Linked DNA regions of Homo sapiens: regions 2, 3 and 4 are each linked to region 1. Evidence: promoter capture Hi-C in 16 types of primary human blood cells and fetal thymus (Javierre and others, 2016). All regions are on one chromosome and are shown on one strand. The core of a region is centred on a gene start or on the middle of the fragment in contact, and the rest is flanking DNA. Distances in the headings are between cores, read along the strand shown.

What was found. The method cuts DNA at HindIII sites, captures the fragments that hold promoters and counts their contacts. A CHiCAGO score of 5 or more calls a contact.
Region 2: a contact is called between a fragment that was not itself captured here and the fragment with the promoter of ABCA2 in region 1, in 1 of 17 cell types (erythroblasts). The highest score is 5.6, in erythroblasts.
Region 3: the fragment with the promoter of NELFB here is called in contact with the fragment with the promoter of ABCA2 in region 1 in 15 of 17 cell types (erythroblasts, endothelial precursors, activated CD4 T cells and 12 more); the score reaches 17.3 in erythroblasts.
Region 4: a fragment that was not itself captured here is called in contact with the fragment with the promoter of ABCA2 in region 1 in 10 of 17 cell types (total CD8 T cells, naive CD8 T cells, total B cells and 7 more); the score reaches 11.7 in total CD8 T cells.

What each region holds. Positions count from the first base shown.
Region 1 is chr9:137,026,466-137,029,734 of GRCh38, forward strand. ABCA2 (ATP binding cassette subfamily A member 2) reads right to left here and starts at 1,772. Exons shown (of 49, transcript NM_001606.5): 1 at 1,610-1,772. The coding sequence starts at 1,675. LINC02908 (long intergenic non-protein coding RNA 2908) reads left to right here and starts at 999. Exons shown (of 3, transcript NR_171031.1): 1 at 999-1,446. RefSeq lists a silencer at 1,850-2,029 and an enhancer at 1,913-2,657. The HindIII fragment of the contact is 3,387 bases long and covers 1-3,269 here.
Region 2 is chr9:137,281,982-137,285,250 of GRCh38, forward strand. It overlaps TOR4A (torsin family 4 member A), which reads left to right. Exons shown (of 2, transcript NM_017723.3): 2 at 1-660. Among named protein-coding and RNA genes, the nearest start is that of TOR4A, 5.9 kb to the left of the region's middle. The HindIII fragment of the contact is 1,900 bases long and covers 772-2,671 here.
Region 3 is chr9:137,253,733-137,257,001 of GRCh38, forward strand. NELFB (negative elongation factor complex member B) reads left to right here and starts at 1,595. Exons shown (of 13, transcript NM_015456.5): 1 at 1,595-1,879; 2 at 2,175-2,338; 3 at 2,597-2,696; 4 at 3,092-3,269. The coding sequence starts at 1,634. It also overlaps a transcript of CIMIP2A not described here. RefSeq lists silencers at 963-1,142, 1,333-1,702, 1,713-1,892, 1,933-1,992 and enhancers at 1,003-1,950, 1,951-2,898. The HindIII fragment of the contact is 15,726 bases long and covers 1-3,269 here.
Region 4 is chr9:136,883,554-136,886,822 of GRCh38, forward strand. It overlaps TRAF2 (TNF receptor associated factor 2), which reads left to right and starts at 2,963. Exons shown (of 11, transcript NM_021138.4): 1 at 2,963-2,988. MIR4479 (microRNA 4479) reads left to right here and starts at 3,180; the gene lies at 3,180-3,250. It overlaps LOC105376326 (a long non-coding RNA gene), which reads right to left and starts at 2,701. Exons shown (of 3, transcript XR_930448.2): 1 at 2,545-2,701; 2 at 1,740-1,797; 3 at 1,227-1,581. RefSeq lists silencers at 2,388-2,517, 2,738-3,269 and an enhancer at 2,924-3,269. The HindIII fragment of the contact is 4,476 bases long and covers 1-3,269 here.

The DNA of each region.
Region 1 (3,269 bases), core at 522-3,021:
CAAGCCTGGCAAGGACTCAGCCTCCCTGGGGGAAACAGTTCCCCACCTGCTCCAGCCATGGGCTAAGGACCTCCACTGTGGCCCAGTGGGCCTCTGGGAGCCCTGTAGGGTGGGGACCCAAAAAGGTCCTGGGGGGCAGCCCAAACCAGCAGCTGGGAGTCACTCTTGCGGTCAGGACAGTGCACACCTCCCACCTGCTTGCCAGCTGCCCTCATAGGCCACACTCCCTTCCCTGAGCATTGTCCCCACTGGAACAGGGGCCACCATTCCAGCCTCTGCTCCCAAGCCCAGTGGGGACCTTCCTGACAACCACCCCCGGGGACTAATACTAATGCATGCCACATGCCACATCCCTGTTCCCTTGGCCCTGCTCTGCTGTCCCCAGTGACTCAATGCCAGGGGCTGCAGGCCTGATCCATGGGACCCCACTCAGCCAGCTCCAGGTGCCTGGCCAGGGCATGTACCTAACCCAGGCTCCCCGCCAAGGCCAGGTGCCCAGGGGAATTCTGCCAGCCATGGTGATGATGGCCACCCCAGCTGACTGCAGCCTGGGTTTCCTGCAGTGCATGTTGAAAGATAAACAGGCACGGACTGGTGCAGCCCAAGGGGTCCCGCCCGGGCCCTGGCTGGGCAAGAGGATGTCTGCCTTAGGCCCCCACCTGCTCTGAGCCCTGGCCTGGACAATCCCAAGGGCCTTCAGAAACCTAAGCTGGTCCAGGCCTGTGGCCTGGGAGGTGTCCCTTCCCTTCCCAGGCTGGAGCCAAGCTGGCCAGCTGGGGGTATGGCAGGACACCCATATCCCCAAGCCCCTCGCTCCACGAAGGACTTCTGTCCCTGACAGCCATGTGTCCTGCACCCTCAGGTCCACTGGCTGCCCAGGCAGTGCTGGGAAAGCCGGGGTTCACAGCTCCAAACAGTAGACCCAGCCCCCAGAGCAGGTGGGGGGACCAGGAGGCAACAGAGTGGATCAGGCTCGGGGAGAACTGACCCCAAAGGACAAATGGGTGCAGAGATTCAGGCTGGCCAAGGCTGGCACAAGGACATTCCCAGTGGCGAGAGCATGAGCAAGGGTCACGGATGTGCCAGGAGGGGAGGCGGAGAGATGCCTGGGACCAACCTCTATGGCAGGCCGCGGCCCAAGGGCAGGGGAGGGGTGGACGGAGGGAAGGGACAGGGTCTCCTCCGGGACCCCAGGGAGGCTGGGCCCAAGGACCATGGAGCCTCGCAGCTGAATGGAGCCCCCCAGGCCTGCCTTCTGTCCTGGGAACCAGGGCCTCCCTCGAGCCAGAGTCCTGAGCGCCGCTTGCCCCCCGCCCACAGCGGCCCCAGCGAGCGCGCTGCAGAGGGCGCGGGTGCCGTGACTCAGCCGAGCACCGCGATGTCAGCGGACGCGGGACCGGACTGGACACGACCGAGCCACCTCCCCGGAGGCCGCAGCGCCGGCAGGCGAGGGCAGGGCCCGGCGGGGAGGGGGCTCGGGCCCGCGCCGCCCCCAGCGCCCGCCGGGGTCTGCGCGCGCCCGGCCGTCCGCACGTGCGCGCGGGGAGCGCGCCTCTGGCCGCGGTGCGCGCGGCCTCGGGCTGAGGGCGGGCGCGTGGGGTGGGCTCACCGGGCTCCGGCGTTTGAGCGTCACGTTCTTCCAGAGCAGCAGCTGCAGCTGGTGCAGGAAGCCCATGGCGGGGCCACGCTCCGCCGCCTCAGCGCCGCGGCCCGCTCCTCTGCGCGCCCCGCCGGGCCCCGCAGCCCGCCGCGCCGCTGGGCATCGCCCGCGCGGGGGCGGGGCGCTCGGGCGTCCGGGACCCGATCCGCGCTGGCTCCGCCCCGGCGGCCGCGGCGACAGCGACTCTGCCCGCGCCCCGCCCGCCCCCGCTTAAAGGCGCCGCGCTCCGTCCGCGCCCGCCAGGAGGCGCCCGCCGCCCGCGCCGCGCCCGGGACCGACCCGGGCCCGAGACCCTGCGCGCGCCGCCGCCGGGAAGCCTCCGGGCCGCCCCTCGCCGGGCGTCACGCGACGCGCCCACATCGAATCCGAGACCCCGGCTTAGCCTTCGTAGGCCGGGGGACCCTCGGGCGCTGCGCTCTTCTCCCAGAGGCATCCGGCTGCGCCCACCGCGCTGGCGACTCTGCAGAGGCGCCCCAAGCCTTCACTGTCCCCGGGGCGCGCCGAGCGGACGCTGGCGAGGGGCCAGCTCACCCCCGTAAGGGTCTCCTGTGTGCTTTGTAAACCAGCACTTGGAGTCCAGGTGGTGCCCACCTGGAAGGGAGGCAGGGCGGCCAGGTGGGTCCGTCCCGCGATTCCGAGCAGCCAGCGGAAGGGGGGAAACTCGAGGCCCCAGGAACGCTCGCCGTGAGCGGAGCAGGCAGGGGACCGAGGCGGCCCCTGCTGCACGCGGCTCGTTTTTCTCCCCATATTCGGGCGAGTCTGGTCTCTGCACAGGGAGTTCGGGATCAGGCGGTTCTGCGGCTGTGGCTTGGCACCTGCTGGGGCGCCCCGGGAGGTGGGGCAGTTCCTCCGCGTGGCCTGTAGAGAGCGACAGAGGACAGGCTGACCCCATGGGTGGCTCTGACGGCGCTTCCCAGACTCAGTTTCCCCCCTGTGAATGGGGTGGAGTAGCGCTGTGTGGTGTCCAGTGTCAGGGCGCACATAGAAGGCGCATCCTCAAGTGAATGAAGACCTCCGAGGCCACAGCTCCCCACTCCTCCCAGCTCCTTTGCAGCAGGAAGGTGACCCTGGGCTAGTGAGTGAGGGATCAGCTTCCCACCCCAGCCCGCAGCCTCAAGGCACTTGCTTTTCTCTGCTCAGTCCACAGGGCTGGGTCAGGGCAGGAAGCTACCAGCAGGTCTTTCCCACAAGCCACAGCCATGGGTGAGGGGGGCTTCCTGCCCTCAACCTGCCCACCCCTACCTGGGGTAGGGACAAGCCCTGTGCCCCAGCCCCGGGGGCTTAGCCTGTTGGGGCCCTGGTCAGCACCACCCGTGGGTTGGCCTCTCTCCTCCTCGCCCCACTCTCCACCGTCCACTACAGGGGCTCCCTGGCTGCAGCCGCATCCCCAGTGCCTCCCCAGCACTGGCCACCAGAGGGAGCTACAAGGCACAGGTCAGACCCTGTCACCCCAGACACCCTCCAGCCTGCGGGCCTGGGAGATGGGCGATTTCAGCCTGGCCAGGCCTCTGACGTCCGTTCCCTACTCTTCCCCAACCTTGGCCTGTTTTGGTTTTTGTTTTGAGACAGGGTCTCATTCTGTTGCCCAGGCTGGAGTGCTGTGGTGTGA
Region 2 (3,269 bases), core at 472-2,971, 260 kb after region 1:
GTTTGCCAGTCCCTGCATGGGTGAATGTTGGGGTGCCCACTGCTCCCCAGGCAGGACCCCCAGGACTGTCAGCTCCCCTTCCCACAGAGCACCCACCTGGAGGTGTCACCTGCCGGCAAGCGTGGGCCATTCATCCACCTGTCAGTCAACAACACCCGCTGAGCATCGGCTTGTATCAAAAGGTCCAGACCTAAGGGGAAATTTTATCTCTTTCTTTCTTTCTTTCTTTTTTTTTTGACACAGAGTTTTGCTCTTGTTGCCCAGGCTGGAGTGCAATGACACGATCTCGGTTCACTGCAACCTCTGCCTCCTGGGTTCAAGCGATTCTCCTGCCTCAGCCTCCCGAGTAGCTGGGATTACAGGCGCCCGCCATCACGCCCGGGTAATTTTTTTGTATTGTTGGTAGAGACGGTGATTCACTATGTTGGCCAGGCTAGTCACGAACTCCTGACCTCGTGATCCGCCCACCTCGGCCTCCCAAAGTGCTGGGATTACAGGTGTGAGCCACCGTGCCCGGCCTCTTTTTATTTATTCCTAAAATATTACCTTGAGGCCAAATTCTGCGCTTAAGGAGAATGTGCACCAAGTGCTGGGGTGGGGGCTGGTAATAAACGAGGCCACAAATCATGCTTGTTAATAAATTGTGTGGTTCAAATCTGACGACCTACTGTTTGGTTTGTTTCTTGTCTGTCTGGTCTGTTAATAATTGAGGAGGATGCTGAAATCTTTCCCTAATTGTAGATTTATGGTAGATTTATCCATTTCTCTCTAAGCTTCTATTTAATAGGACATGCTGATCGAGAGTTTTGTTTTTTGTTTTGTTTTGAGAAACTTCTGAATGGGGAAGTGGTGTGGACCTGGAGGCTGATGGAAGGATTGGGGCTCACATGCAGTCTGCAGCTCAAACATCCGGGCTTTCCAGGAAATCCATAAATAACTAAAGTATTTTCTTTAATTGCCCTGGACAGGTGCTGAGGGCAGATGACCCAGGCTGGACATGCGGGAAGTTGCCAGCTAACCAGATGATCCCAAATGTCATAGCTGCTCTCCCTCATATGTGCAGAAACTGTTTCTGTGCAGTTGTCTCTGAGTTATTCTTTGACATCTGCCATGTGTCATTACGTAGTAACCCTCGTGATCTGTGTGTGCACATCATAATGACTTTTTTTTTTTTTTTTGAGACAAGGTCTCGCTCTGTCACCCAGGCTGGAGTGCAGTGGTGTGATCTCCACTCACTGCAGCCTCCACCTCCTGGGTTCAAGTAATTCTCCTGCCTCAGCCTCCTGAGTAGCTGGAATTACAGACGCCCACCACCACACCCAGCTAATTTTTGTATTTTTAGTAGGGACTCAGTTTCACTATGTTGGCCAGGCTGGTCTCGAACTCCTGACCTCAGGTGATCTACCCATCTCAGCCTCCCAAAATGCTGGCATTACAGTTGTGAGCCAACGTGCCTGGCTTCTCTTTTCTTTTAATAGAGACAGGTTCTCTCTGTCATTCAGGCTGGAATGCAATGGCGTGATTGTGGCTCACTACAGCCTCGACCTCCTGGGCTCAAGCGATTCTCCCACCTCGGCCTTCCAAAGTGCTGGGATTCCAGGCGTGAGCCGCCGCGCCTGGCCATTCTCTGCATTTTTCAAGGTCAGCAACACTGCATCCTTCCGACCACAGCCAGGAAGAGTTTTCTGCTTTTAAAGACCCATGTGACTAGATGTGTCCACCTGGGCCAGGCGCAGTGGCTCACGCCTATAATCCCAGCACTTTGGGAGGCCAAGGCGGGCAGATCACCTGAGGTCAGGAGTTCAAGACCAGCCTGGCCAACATGGTGGAACCCTGTCTCTACTAAAAATACAAAAATCAGTCGGATGTGGTGTCGAGTTCCTGTCATCCCAGCTACTTGGGGGGCTGAGGTAGGAGAATCGCTTGAATCCAGGAGGTGGAGCTTGCAGTGAGCCAAGACCCTGCGACTGCACTCCAGCCTGGACGACAGAGTGAGACTATGTCTCAAAAAAGATAAAATAAATAAGTAAATGTGTCCACCTGGGTAATAACGGATTATCTTCCCATCCAAGGTCCACACTTACCTACATCTGCAAAGTCCCTGAGTCAGTTTTGGTAATTTGTGTCTTTCTTGGAACTTCTAGGAATTTGTCCATTTCATCTAAATTGTCTAATTTTATTGATTTTTTTTTTTTGAGACAGTCTTGCTCTATCGCCCAGGCTGGAGTGCAGTGGCTCGATCTTGGCTCACTGCAACCTCTGCCTCCTGGGTTCAAGGGATTCTCCTGCTGTAGCCTCCCTAGTACCTGGGACTACAGGTGTGTGCCACCATGCCCAGCTAATTTTTTGTTTTGTTTTGTTTTGAGACGGAGTTTCACTCTTGTTGTCTAGGCTGGAGTGCAATGGTGCGATGATCTCGGCTCATTGCAACTTCCACCTCCTGGGTTCAAGCAATTCTCCTGCCTCAGTCTCCCGAGTAGCTGGGATTGCAGGCACGCACCAACATGCTCAGCTAATTTTTGTATTTTTAGTAGAGACAGGGTTATACCATATTGGACAGGCTGGTCTCAAACTCCCCACTTACAGTGATCCTCCAGCCTAGACCTCCCAAAGTGCTGGGATTACAGGCGTGAGCCACCATGCCTGGCCCTAGGCAAACTTTTTGAAATAAAGCTTTTTTTTTTTTTTTTGGTTTGTTTGTTTGAGACAGGGTCTCACTCTGTCACCTAGGCTGGAGGGCAGTGGTGCAATCTCAGCTAGTGGTGCAATCTTGGCTCACTGCAGCCTTAAACTCCCAGGTTCAAGCGATTCTCCTGCCTTGGCCTCCTGAGTAGCTGGGACCAGAGGCGTGTGCCACCATGTCCTGGTAATTTTTGTTTTTTTTTTTTTTTTTGAGACAGAGTCTCGCTCTGTTGCCCAGGCTGGAGTGCAGTGGCGCGATCTCTGCTCACTGCAAGCTCCGCCTCCTGGGTTCATGCCATTCTCCTGCCTCAGCCTCCCAAGTAGCTGGGACTACAGGCGCCCATCACCACGCCTGGCTAGTTTTTTGCATTTTTTTTTTTTGAGATGGAGTCTTGCTCTGTCATCCAGGCTGGAAGTGCAGTGGCGCAATCTTGGCTCACTGCAAGCTCCGCCTCCCGGGTTCTCGCCATTCTGCCTCAGCCTCCTTAGTAGCTGGGATTACAGGCGCCTGCCACCATGACTGGCTAATTTTTTTTTTTGCATTTTTTTAGTAGAGACGGGGTTTCACCATGTTAGCCAGGATGGTC
Region 3 (3,269 bases), core at 345-2,844, 230 kb after region 1:
TGAGGGTCAGCTGCTTGCCGAGCCAGGGAACTGGGAAGGAGGCGTCAAATGCCCTGAGCCGCCACCTCCAGGTGGGGTCGGCCTGGCCAGACCTCAGGAAGGGCCCAGGGATCTGCTCACCAGGGCCCAGCCCCACTTCCCCTAGGCCTTGAGCTGAAGACCTGGCTGGGCTTAGTCACCTGTGCCCTGAACACTCTGGCCCAGGGCCCTGCAGACTCCACTCCCGGGGCCTTCACCTGCTGGGACCCTGCACTGCCCCTGCCTGCAACTTCGCCTGGCTGGGGCCTCCCTTGTCATCACTGGCCTGCCCTCCTACCCAGGGTCGGGCCCCAAGGCTGCCACCTTGCAGGAGCCTTACCTGCGGTGCCGTCACCCGCACCTCCCCAGGTCCTCCCCAGACCCAGGACCCAGACCAGGCCCAGAGCTCAACCCCTTCAAAAAGGCTCTGGGCAGCTGCTTCTGTGGCCTCAGCACCACCCCCTTTCTCAGAGAGGAATCCCAGGCTCAGGATTGTGTGTGTGCTGTGACCCTTGTCCTCCTCTGCCACCGAACCAGCTGGGGGTTGGATCAAGGCACTGGAACCCTCGCCCTAGGGCTGACCAACTTGGCCAGCGGCAAGAGAGCTGTGGTAGCCATGGCCTTGGGAGCTCGGCCCGGCTTGTGGGAACAGGAGCTCTGCTCACGGCTGCACCACCAGGCACCCCTGGTGAGACCCAAAGCTAGGAGTGGGAGCGGCAGGAAAGATGGAGCGATCTCCTCCAGCTGGGCTGAGGAGGGAGGGCTTCCTGGAGGAGGTGGTGGAGGAAGAAGCCTTCAAGGAAGAGCAAGAGTTTGCTGGGCAGCGGGAAAGAAATTTCTAGAGAAAATTTCAGCAGCGGAGACCGAAAAGAGAGAGGGTGTGTGTAGGGGGCTTGGCGCGGCACAGCCTGCGGGAGGGCGGCGGGCTGGAGAGGCGGGGAGGCCCGGGGAGCCCACCCGCCTGGGATAAGAAGGGACACTGTGGAACCTGGACTCTCCTTCACGGCTCCGCGGAGCTCGGTGGGCGCCACAGCCTCCCGGTGCCTGGGAGGGCGGCCGTCGCTCGCGCTCCCGCTGCGGGCCCGGTCTCCGCCAGGCCCCGGCCCCCTGAAGGCGCTCAGATCTCAGTTTTGGCGACAGCGCCGGGGTGGGCTTCGTGCCCGTTTCACGCGGAGGAACCCACGCTCAGGAGGGAGTCTGCGCCTGTGTCCGGCCCCTGCGGGGCAGAGGGGCGGGGAGCTCAACCCCCGGCAAAACGTCCCCGCTGCGCGTGGCTGCCGCGAGATCTGCAAGAGCGTTTTCCACGCTTATGTACACGAAATTCACTCGGCTGCGACGACGTCCGTTCCCGGAGCAGACGGACCCTGAGTCCGCCCCCCACGCCCTCACCCGCCCTCTTCTGCCAGAAAGCCCGGGCGCGGGCGGGACCGGGTGGGCGCATGCGCGCTGGGCTGGCTGGGCGGGGTCTCTCGCGCCGGGTGAGGGCGCTGCTCCCAGGAACCTGCGCGCGGCCCCGGCGGCGTTTCCCGGGGGCCGGTTGGCGGGCGGACCTGGGCGGTGCGGGGCGGAAGTGGGCGGCTGCGGGACGCGCGCGGAGTCGCGCGGCGGGCGGGACCTGGCCGAGCTGGAGGGCGCCGGGGAGCGGGGCTCGGGCGGTCCCCGAGGCCCGGCGGAGCGGGCTTCTGGGGTGTCTGCGGCGGCGCCGGGGGAACGGGCTGGGGATGGGGCGCCTAGCCGGGCGGTGGCCGGGGCCTCGGCCATGTTCGCGGGGCTGCAGGACCTGGGCGTGGCCAACGGCGAGGACCTGAAGGAGACCCTGACCAACTGCACGGAGCCGCTCAAGGCCATCGAGCAGTTCCAGGTGGGGCGGCCCCCGGGGCGGGGGGAGCCCAGTTGGAGGGCCGGGCCGCCTGCTCGGGAGTCGGGCCTGGCGGAGGCGCCGGAAGTTTTCCGGCTTTCTGCTGGTGGCTGAGTCCTGTTCTGGGGGTGGAGTCCGGAGCCAGCACCCCTTTGCTGGACGGCTGGGTGGCTTTCGGTGGCTGCGGTTACCGCCAGCACGGCTGGGAACACCTGGGTGCGTGCCTCCCTGTGCTCTCAGGACCTCGGGGTGCCCGGGCGCACTGGGCTGCGTTTGAGGTTTCTCTTGGCTTCCTCAGACAGAGAATGGTGTGCTGCTGCCATCTCTTCAGTCAGCCCTCCCCTTCTTGGACCTGCACGGGACGCCGCGGCTGGAGTTCCACCAGTCGGTATTCGATGAGCTGCGGGACAAGCTGCTGGAGCGAGTGTCAGCCATCGCTTCGGAGGGGAAGGCTGAGGAAAGGTGGGTCAGCGGGAGGGGTGGGCAGGTGAGATGTGCAGCCGGCCTCTCAGCCTTGGATCGACTCAGGGGCATTTATTGTCCTTTTGGCTCCACATCCTTGCTCCCAGAGGTGGCCTGGGCCTGTGTCTGAGTGACCCCTTGACCCATGTGTCCTGGGCGTGGAGGCTTGTCCTGGTAGCTGTTATCTGTGTAGGGACAGGCAGGTAGCTGCTGCGATTTGGCGCATCGCTGCACCATCAATCCTGTGAGTTGTTCCAGGTACAAGAAGCTGGAAGACCTTCTGGAGAAGAGCTTTTCTCTGGTGAAGATGCCGTCCCTGCAGCCCGTGGTGATGTGCGTCATGAAGCACCTGCCCAAGGTAGGGCCCTAACCCTAACCCTGATGGCGTGGACCGTCCGCCCACTCTCATGCCCTTGGTTAGTGGAAGTTCCGGTGGCCGCCTAGCTCCGGGAGCTTCCTGTGCTGCCTGCCCAAGTGCTGTCCATGGTGAGCTCTGTGCTGACTTCTCCCACATGAGCCGCGTGGAGACCGAACCTTAGCACTGGAGTTAGGGTGTGGGGCCCCTCCTGGGAAAGAGCTGTTGGTATTTAGCATGTCTGTCTGACATGCTGGGGCCGGGGAACCAGTCATAGGTGCCCTGTGGGGTGGAGCTTAGCTCGAGGTGGTCTCTGCGGGGCTGAGGCCTCTTGGCTTGTCTTGAAGGAGACCCAGGGACACAGGTGCCACTCACAGGCAGCCTGTGGTGTCATGTAGGTTCCGGAGAAAAAACTGAAGCTGGTTATGGCTGACAAGGAGCTGTATCGAGCCTGCGCCGTGGAGGTGAAGCGGCAGATCTGGCAAGACAACCAGGCCCTCTTCGGGGACGAGGTTTCCCCACTCCTGAAGCAGTACATCCTGGAGAAGGAGAGCGCTCTCTTCAGTACAGAGCTCT
Region 4 (3,269 bases), core at 770-3,269, 140 kb before region 1:
TCACCCAGGGTGGAATGCAGTGGCGTAATCTCGGCTCACTGCAACCTCTGCCTCCCAGGTTCAAGTGATTTTCCTGCCTCAGCCTCCTGAGTAATTGGGATTACAGGCATCTGCCACCATGCCCAGCTGATTTTTGTATTTTTAGTAGAGACAGGGTTTCACCACGTTGGCCAGGCTGGTCTTGAACCCCTGACCTCAGGTGATCCACCCACCTCAGCCTCCCAAAGTGCTGGGATTACAAACATGAGCCACTGTGCCGGGCCTTTTGTGTATTTTTTTTTTTTTTTGAGATGGATTCTTGCTCTGTCGCCAGGCTGGAGTGTAGTGGCGCAATCTCGGCTCACTGCAACCTACGCCTCCCGGGTTCAAGTGAATCTCCTGCCTACTCAGTCTCCTGAGTAGCTGTGAGTACAGGCGCGTACCACCATGCCCAGCTAATTTTTGTACTTTTAGTAGAGACAGGGTTTCAACATGTTGGCCAGAATGGTCTCGATCTCTTGACCTCATGATCTGCCCACCTCGGCCTCCCAAAGTGCTGGGGTGAGCCACCGCGCCCGGCCTTTTGTATTTTTTTAGTAGAGACGAGGTTTCACCATGTTGGCCAGTCTGGTCTCAAACTCCTGACCTCAGGTGATCTGCTCGCCTAGGCCTCCCAAAGTGCTGGGATTACAGGCATGAGCCGCCGTGCCTGGCTGTTTTTTCTTTTTTAAAAGAGACAGGGTCAGCCAGGCGCAGTGGCTCATGCCTGTAATCCTAGCACTTTGGGAGGCCGAGGCAGGCAATTGCCTGAGCTCAGGAGTTCGAGACCAGCCTGAGCAACACGGTGAAACCCCGTCTCTACTAAAATACAAAAAAAATTAGCCGGGCGTAGCGGTGTGCGCCGGTAGTCCCAGCTACTCCGGAGGCTTAGGCAGGAGAATTTCTTGAACCCGGGAGGCAGAGGTTGCAGTGAGCCGAGATCGCACCACTGCACTCCAGCCTGGGTGACAGAGCAAGACACCGTCTCAAAAAAGAAAAAAAAGAGACAGGGTCTCACTCTATAGCGCAGCCTGGAGTGCAGTGGTGCAACCACAGCTCACTGCAACCTCCACCTCCTGAGCTTCAGTCATCTTCCTGCCTCAGCCTTCCAAGCAGTTGGGACTACAGGTGTGCAGCACCACACCCAGCTAAATTTTTTTTCCTTTTTTTGGTAGAGATGGGGTTCCCCCATGCTGCCCATGCTGGTTTCGAACTCATGGGCTCAAGCGGTCCTCCTGCCTCAGCCTCCCAAAGTGCTGGGATTATAGGCATGAACTGCCACGTGAACCCTTTCTCATCCCGAGCTGGCTGCTGCAGACTCAGGACAGCTTTGAGCCTCCCAGGTGCAGCCAGGAGGAGACGCCTTCTTACGTTTGAGAGCTCAGTTAGTTCCTGGGCTTGAGCAACCTCACTGAGCCTGCAGGTGCGGACTTGGGACGTTTCCATGGCTGCTTGCAGCAAACTCAGGGGTGATGACGTTGATGGAATCCGATGGCTTCCTGAGTTCCATCTCAAGGCCTTGCTGTCCCAGGAATGTGGGTTTGGGGCGGAGGGGAATTCCAACTGCAAACCAAGTAACATATATGAAATGTGGCATTGGCGCCTGGGGACAGCGTGGCCTGTGTAAATTATGCAACTTCAAAGCCTGCCCTGTTTTGCAGTGTATTCCATCCTTGAGGAGTCCCGTGGTCTCAGGGTCTGAATGCTTGGAGGAGACTTACCTCCGTGAACGTTTCCTTCTCTGCAAAGCGGGGTGAAAGGTCTCCATTTCACCAAAGGCTGGATGGAGAGGGGGTGGTGTGTCCAGTGCTAGCCCGTGCACCGCCAGAGAGAACCTGCTGCAGCTCCCGTTCTCCTGGGCAGATGACAGTGCCGCCTCCCCCATGCAGCCCACAGGACTCCTAGGGCAGCCCCTGTTTTGGCCGCCAAGGCCACTGTTTTCATTTGAGTGTCTGGAGGCCATAGGTTGTGTTTTCACTTGAGGTCGGGAGTTCAAGACCAGCCTGGCCAACATGGTGAAACCTCGTCTCTATCAAAAATACAAACATTAGCCGGGCGTGATGGCGGGCGCCTGTAGTCCCAGCTACTCGGGAGGCTGAGGCAGGAGAATCGCTTGAACCCGGGAGGCGGAGGTTGCAGTGAGTCGAGATCGCGCCACTGAACTCCAGCCTGGGCGACAGAGTGAGCCTCCGTCTCAAAAAAAAAAATAAATAAAGTGCACAACCCAGTAGATTAGCACACCGGCCATGTCGGGCGGCCGTCACCACTGTCCGGTTGCAGAGCATTACCTCACCCCAAAAGGAGACCCCATAGCCTTAATACCTTACTTAAGTGTGCAGTATTCTTTTAGTCCTGTTTCTCATAAATGTTACCCAAATTGAGGCGCCGCTCTGCGCCCGGCACCGGGGGAGGCGGAGGGACCCGCAGGTGTCGGGTAGGTGCGGCCGCCCCGCCAGGGCCCCGCGTCCCGCGCGCGACGCGCGCCTCGTGGGAACCGGTGTCGCCCGGCTTGGGCTCCCGGCTCACCTCTCGGGTGTGCGGCAGGGGTCTCCGCCCCGGGGCCACGGGAGGGGAAGCAAGGGCCTCGCTGTCTCGCCGCACCTGGGGAAGGGACCCAATTAGCGCGGACCCCACAGCGCAGCACCTCACCAGCTCCCCGCACCAACGCCCCGGCGCGCTCTTTGAGGAAAAAGCAGAGGGCGACTTAGGTACCCACGCCGTCTCAGCGCCGACCAATCGGCGCACGCTGCGGCTCCTGCGGGCTCGCTGGTTGGCTCCGGCGTCAGTCCGTCAGGCGCGCTCGGAGCGGGGCGTATCTGGCCAATGGCTCTCGCTACAGCTTCCTGAGGGCTGGCTGGTTGGCTCCCATGTCCGTCCGTCAGGCGCACGCGGCGGAGCGGCGGCGGCGGCGGCGGCGTTGGGGGCGGTAGCTGGGCGGGCCCTTAGTTCCGGGCGCGCTGCGACCGTTGGGTGAGGCGAGCGCGGGGTCGGGTGCGGGGTCGGGCGCGGGCGCGGGGTCGGGTGCGGGGTCGGGCGCGGGGTCGGGCGCAGGCGCGGGCACCTCTCAGGGAGACTCCGGGCCGGAGCGGGAGCGGGGGCGGGAGAGGCCGCGGGGCGGGGGCGGGGCCAGCCCGAGGGGATTTCTCTGAGCCGCTGGGCCGGAAACCAAGTCCGAGCGTGGCTGGCGCGGGAAAGTTCGGGAACGCGCGCGGCCGTGCTCGGAGCAGCGCCAGGGCACGGTCCGGGGTTTT